2 separate regions of the Homo sapiens genome follow, and region 1 is linked to region 2. Evidence: promoter capture Hi-C in human tissues and cell types (Jung and others, 2019). All regions are on one chromosome and are shown on one strand. The core of a region is centred on a gene start or on the middle of the fragment in contact, and the rest is flanking DNA. Distances in the headings are between cores, read along the strand shown. Region 1 holds the start of SPEG (striated muscle enriched protein kinase). Region 2 holds the start of ASIC4 (acid sensing ion channel subunit family member 4).

What was found. Contacts are between HindIII fragments. The study calls those that stand out against the background at their distance.
Region 1: a contact is called between the fragment with the promoter of SPEG here and the fragment with the promoter of ASIC4 in region 2, in 3 of the 25 tissues and cell types used here (H1 embryonic stem cells, neural progenitor cells and psoas muscle).

What each region holds. Positions count from the first base shown.
Region 1 is chr2:219,433,572-219,436,271 of GRCh38, forward strand. It overlaps SPEG (striated muscle enriched protein kinase), which reads left to right and starts at 1,272. Exons shown (of 41, transcript NM_005876.5): 1 at 1,272-1,794. The coding sequence starts at 1,407. The HindIII fragment of the contact is 17,008 bases long and covers 1-2,700 here.
Region 2 is chr2:219,513,100-219,515,799 of GRCh38, forward strand. It overlaps ASIC4 (acid sensing ion channel subunit family member 4), which reads left to right and starts at 1,383. Exons shown (of 10, transcript NM_018674.6): 1 at 1,383-2,207. The coding sequence starts at 1,626. All of the region lies in intron 1 of ASIC4-AS1 (ASIC4 antisense RNA 1), which reads right to left. RefSeq lists an enhancer at 1-21 and a silencer at 1,306-1,481. The HindIII fragment of the contact is 23,008 bases long and covers 1-2,700 here.

The DNA.
Region 1 (2,700 bases), core at 22-2,521, 80 kb before region 2:
GATTCTCCTGCCTCAGCCTCCTGAGTAGCTGGGACTACAGGCATGAGCCACTACACCTGGCTAATTTTTTGTATTTTTAGTAGAGACAGGTTTCACCATGTTGGCCAGGCTGGTGTTGAATTCCTGAGTTCAAGTGATCCACCCACCTCGGCCTCCCAAAGTGCTGGAATTACAGGTGTTAGCCACCGCGCCCAGCCAAGATACAGAACTGTTCTATCACAAAGGTCTCATCTGGACTCTTGATGTTTCTCAACGTGCAACACTTAGGCACATCAGAATCAGTTGAGTCATTTGTTAAATGTGCAGATTCCTCCCAGCTCAGCTGCTGAACCAGTGTGGGGCAAGGAGGCTGGGAATCTGGCCTTTACTTGAACTGGCCGTCATTTCTATCCATCCTCCACTTTGTGGCCGCCAAGAGGATCCTCCTAAGACACAGCTCCCACCGTGTTTTTTCTGCCGCTTAAAGCTGTGTAGTGGCGCCCCCTGCTTTCAGGGTAGAGAAACCAAAGCCTTAGCAAACAAAGCCTTCTCCAGGCCCCACCTCCCTTCTTCCACTCACCCCACCCACTACGCTTCAATCCCTCCAAACCTCTCTAATTCCCAGGACGCCTTTGTTTTCATCAGGCTCATTTTGTTCATGCCGTTCCCTCTGCCTGGAATGTCCTGCCCACTCTTTTCTGCCTATTGCAACCCTATTCCACCACCCATTCTTACAGATGAGGACTTGGAGGTTGAGAGAGGTTTGGTGTCACCCAGCAAGTAAGGGCAGGGCGCAGTGGAGGCCCCAATCCACCTGACTCCCAGGCTCCTGGTCTTACTGTTCGCCAGCTGTAATGGAGGCGCTGGGGGAGGCCATGGTCCCTCTTCGGAGCTGTCTGCTCACCTCCACTTGGGCCTGCCTCCCCATCCACCTCTCAGGCATCTCACCAGGACCGTTCCTCTTCTTCCCCTCCCAGCGAAGCCGGGCAGGGATGAGGGGTCTGAGATGAGGGAGGAAGGGAAATGGGATTGAGCCCAGGGGTAACCTGACTCCCTGCAGTGGGTCGTGTGGGGGCCAGGCACACTACGGAGGGGAAAGCCTGGAACAAATACCGAGGGACTCCCTTAAGCCGGGCCGGCGATGGGGGCTCCTGGAGGGAGAGAAGGAGCCAAGTGGAGTCAAGTCCCTCCCCTGCTGCCCCCTCCCTCCACGGCTCCCTCGCAACCCGAGCCGGGGGGCCTAAAAATAGCCCCCAGGCGCAATCGCCGGCCGCCCCGGTGACCTTCTGGGTAGCACAGGCCGAAGGCGGGCGGGCAGCAGGAAGGCAGGCCGCCGGCCCCCCAGACTTGTCTCCTAGGGCACCGTCCCGCGGGTGCCCCCGTGGCCGCCCAGTTCCGGCGTCCCCCCAGCCCAGCTCTCAGTGGCCATGCAGAAAGCCCGGGGCACGCGAGGCGAGGATGCGGGCACGAGGGCACCCCCCAGCCCCGGAGTGCCCCCGAAAAGGGCCAAGGTGGGGGCCGGCGGCGGGGCTCCTGTGGCCGTGGCCGGGGCGCCAGTCTTCCTGCGGCCCCTGAAGAACGCGGCGGTGTGCGCGGGCAGCGACGTGCGGCTGCGGGTGGTGGTGAGCGGGACGCCCCAGCCCAGCCTCCGCTGGTTCCGGGATGGGCAGCTCCTGCCCGCGCCGGCCCCCGAGCCCAGCTGCCTGTGGCTGCGGCGCTGCGGGGCGCAGGACGCCGGCGTGTACAGCTGCATGGCCCAGAACGAGCGGGGCCGGGCCTCCTGCGAGGCGGTGCTCACAGTGCTGGAGGTCGGAGGTAAAGGGCAGGTGGGGGCCGCGCCCGGCAGGGGCGGGGTGCTCAGAGGTAGAAAAGGGCTGCCCAGGCCACGCGGGTAAGGTACTGGATACTGGTTCCGCCGCCTTCTTCCCAGGTGCCCTGGCTTCTCGGCTGCCCGGCCCCAGAAGTGAGACGAAGAGCCAAGTGCAGGGAATGGGGTGTCAAGGTAGAGAGGCTCCCCACAGGAAGGTCAGAGGTCAAGGGGCAGCAAGCGGTTGATAAGCCAAGCCTGAGACCCACTCCCACCTCTCAGGGAATTCTGGGGTGGAAGTTCTTCTCCTCCTGTGGAGAAAAGCCTCCTGGGGGAAAGGGTGTCCTTCAGTTCCATGATTTAAACTTGAGATTGACACTCCGATCAGCTCCTTAACAGGGGAGTCCATGTCCGAAGGAGGGGGCCAGCTCCTCTGGTCCAGGCTGCACTGTTGAAGGGATGGCTCAGAGCTCCCTGCAGGCCATTGCCGTGGCAGGGTTGATGTGGTCAGCTCTAGGTGGGGTGTGGAAGAGGCCTATGGTTGGCCACGTGTGAACAGGGTCCAGGGTAGGAGGAGGTGGAGCCCGAGCCAGGGCCCCATGGGCATGAATGGAGGTGAGTGCTTGAGAATCCACATGCAGGTGTGTGCCTGCATGGGTGCTGTGGAGGGCCCTGGATTCTGTGTGGTGGTGCAAACAGGTGAGGTATGGGCACGTGGAGCTGGAATGGGAAGCTCCTGGACCATGTCTACCTGAGCTTCCAGAGTGGATGTTTCCAGAGCATGGAAGGGGGATGCTATGGACCAGTGCTTGTCCCCCGCCCATAGATTTCCAGGTGCAGTGTGAAGAAAAGGCTGAGGGTCTGAGGCAGAAGGGGAGGGCAAGAGGCTGGGCCCAGTGCTCATGGTCCAGCTG
Region 2 (2,700 bases), core at 133-2,632:
CGTTTCCCTCAGATCGATTCCTTTCTCACTTTTTTTCTCAGCTGCTGGTTCTGCGGCTTGGATCGATGGAGCCACCTCCCCCCGCCCGTCCACGCTTCCTCTCCCTGCTGCTCATTAGCGCCCCGATTAATCAGCCCCCCTTTCCTCCCGGGGACAAGGGCTTCCTCCCCCGTGAGGGCACATGCTGTCGGATGGGGCCCCAGAGCACAAGCACTGATTCTTGCCACCCCCACCCTGGGGGCATGGATGCATCCCCTCCTGGCCAGTCAACTGAGGCTCCCACCCCCACCTATGATGATGGCCCACATGCCTGTTCCCCTCCACGAGAACACAGCAGACCCCTTAGGGCTCTCCTGCCCCACTCTGCCAGGCACCCCTCAAACCCCTTTCTTTAGGAGAGCATTCGCTCCCATTGACGCCCAGCACATCTTCCTGCTCCCTTCCACGCCCCCACTGGGGCTCTTCCTCTCCCTCCATTGCATGCCCTGTCCCCCTACATATAGAGCACCCCGGAAGCACACCTCCCCTTTGCTCCCTGGCTTGCTTACCCAACAGCCCTCCCCCGAAGCCTGGTTGTGGCAAGGGATTTGGGGAACATTTGGGGAAGCAAAGTGGCCACAGATATGCAAGCTGGCCAGGGTGCTGTCTGTCCCAGACATATGAATGACTGAGATTGGGGTTGGGGGCAAAATGAGGGTGAGGGCAGCCAGCCTCCCAGAGGGGGCAGGGGCATGGTGGGTGTTGAAGTCTGGAGCAAAGCTCCAGGGAAGCTGAGAATCTTGAAGTCACAGTTGTCCCCTGGTCTGTCTAGCCTGCCCTCCTCTGCCCCCCTCCCTCCGTCATTCAAACAAGTGGCTCTCTCAAGGAGTTTCTGGAAGCTGCTGTGAGTCGGGTAGTGGGATCAGGTGGTGGCTGGGTGCTGGAGTCAGGAGTCTCAGAGGCCAGGAGGTGGGGGGATAGAGTTGGCTGACCCTTCATGGGGTGTGGGCCAGGAAAGTGGCAAAGAATGAGCTGAGGACCCTGGGCACGGCACCCTTCCCTGGGTGGCCAGGAAGTGGGGAGATCTGGGGACCCAGTGAGCGGCTAGGGTGCAGCAGGAGTTTGGGGGATAGCCCCAGTCTTGGGATCTCTGTCCTGGGCTGGGGACTGCCCCCTCCCCTGGCCTGGCTCCTGACGCCCGTGCTGCCGGTGAAACGCTGTTGACATGTCCTGAATTATTAAGCGTGGGGAGGGCTCCGGAGCACATGCTGAGCGGAGCGGCTGGGGCTGCGCGGCGTGGCGGAGCAGCGCTCGCTCCCTCGCTCACTCGCTCGCTCGCAGGGACACACGCAGGGGCTGACAGCTGTGCTGGTGCTGATAAGGGAAGCCACAAGGAGACGATCGAGGAGAGAGACAAGCGGCAGCAGAGGCAGCAGCGGCAGAGGCAGCACCAGGGCTGCGGAGCTGCTGGGAGTGGGAGTGACTCCCCCACCTCGGGCCCCCACCCTGTCCCTGTCCTCTTCCCGCTTGCCCTGAGTTTAGAAGAGCAGCCGCTGCCACCACTGCCACTCGGGAGGGCACCAGGGCTGCTGGCTAGGGAGGGACAGGGCAGGGAGGCTCTGGCCAGTCCCAGCAGCCGGGGACAGATGCCGATCGAGATTGTGTGCAAAATCAAATTTGCTGAGGAGGATGCGAAACCCAAGGAGAAGGAGGCAGGGGATGAGCAGAGCCTCCTCGGGGCTGTTGCCCCTGGAGCAGCCCCCCGAGACCTGGCCACCTTTGCCAGCACCAGCACCCTGCATGGACTGGGCCGGGCCTGTGGCCCAGGCCCCCACGGACTGCGCAGAACCCTGTGGGCACTGGCCCTACTCACCTCGCTGGCTGCCTTCCTGTACCAGGCGGCTGGCCTGGCCCGGGGCTACCTGACCCGGCCTCACCTGGTGGCAATGGACCCCGCTGCCCCAGCCCCAGTGGCGGGCTTCCCGGCTGTCACCCTCTGCAATATCAACCGCTTCCGGCATTCGGCACTCAGCGATGCCGACATCTTCCACCTGGCCAATCTGACAGGGCTGCCCCCCAAAGACCGGGATGGGCACCGTGCGGCTGGCCTGCGCTACCCAGAGCCTGACATGGTAGACATCCTCAACCGCACTGGCCACCAGCTCGCCGACATGCTTAAGAGCTGCAACTTCAGTGGGCATCACTGCTCCGCCAGCAACTTCTCTGTGGTGAGTTCTGCCAGCTGGGCTGCCTGGCCTTGGATGGCCGGAGGCTGGGGAGTGGGGAGGAGTGGTGGCAGTGGTGTACAGGGGCATCCTCAACAGGGCTTCCCTTCATTCCACCACCAGAGGCTGGCCTCGTGTTTCCCCAAGCCTGGCGTCTCCCTCTGGCTTCCCAGCCATGGAGCAGTGGCCGCTCATAGGGGCTTACCCTGGGGCGCCTGCTGCTCCTCTTCTTGGTTTTGCTGCTGCTGCAGTGCCCAGGTCTGGGAGTTGGGGTGGGGGTTCCTAGGCATGGGCCCAGGTGTCCTGGAGCTGGCTGGCTTGCAGGGAACGCACGCACCATCCCAAGGCCAGACCAACTGACTCTCACTTTTCTCTTGCTCCCTTTTTCTTCTGAGGCTACTGGATTCTTCCCACCAAACGAAGGAGATAGGGAGGGGAGGTTTGGGGGGCTCCATCTAGGGAAGGACCCCGGGTGGCCTCCTGGGGAGCTGGCCTG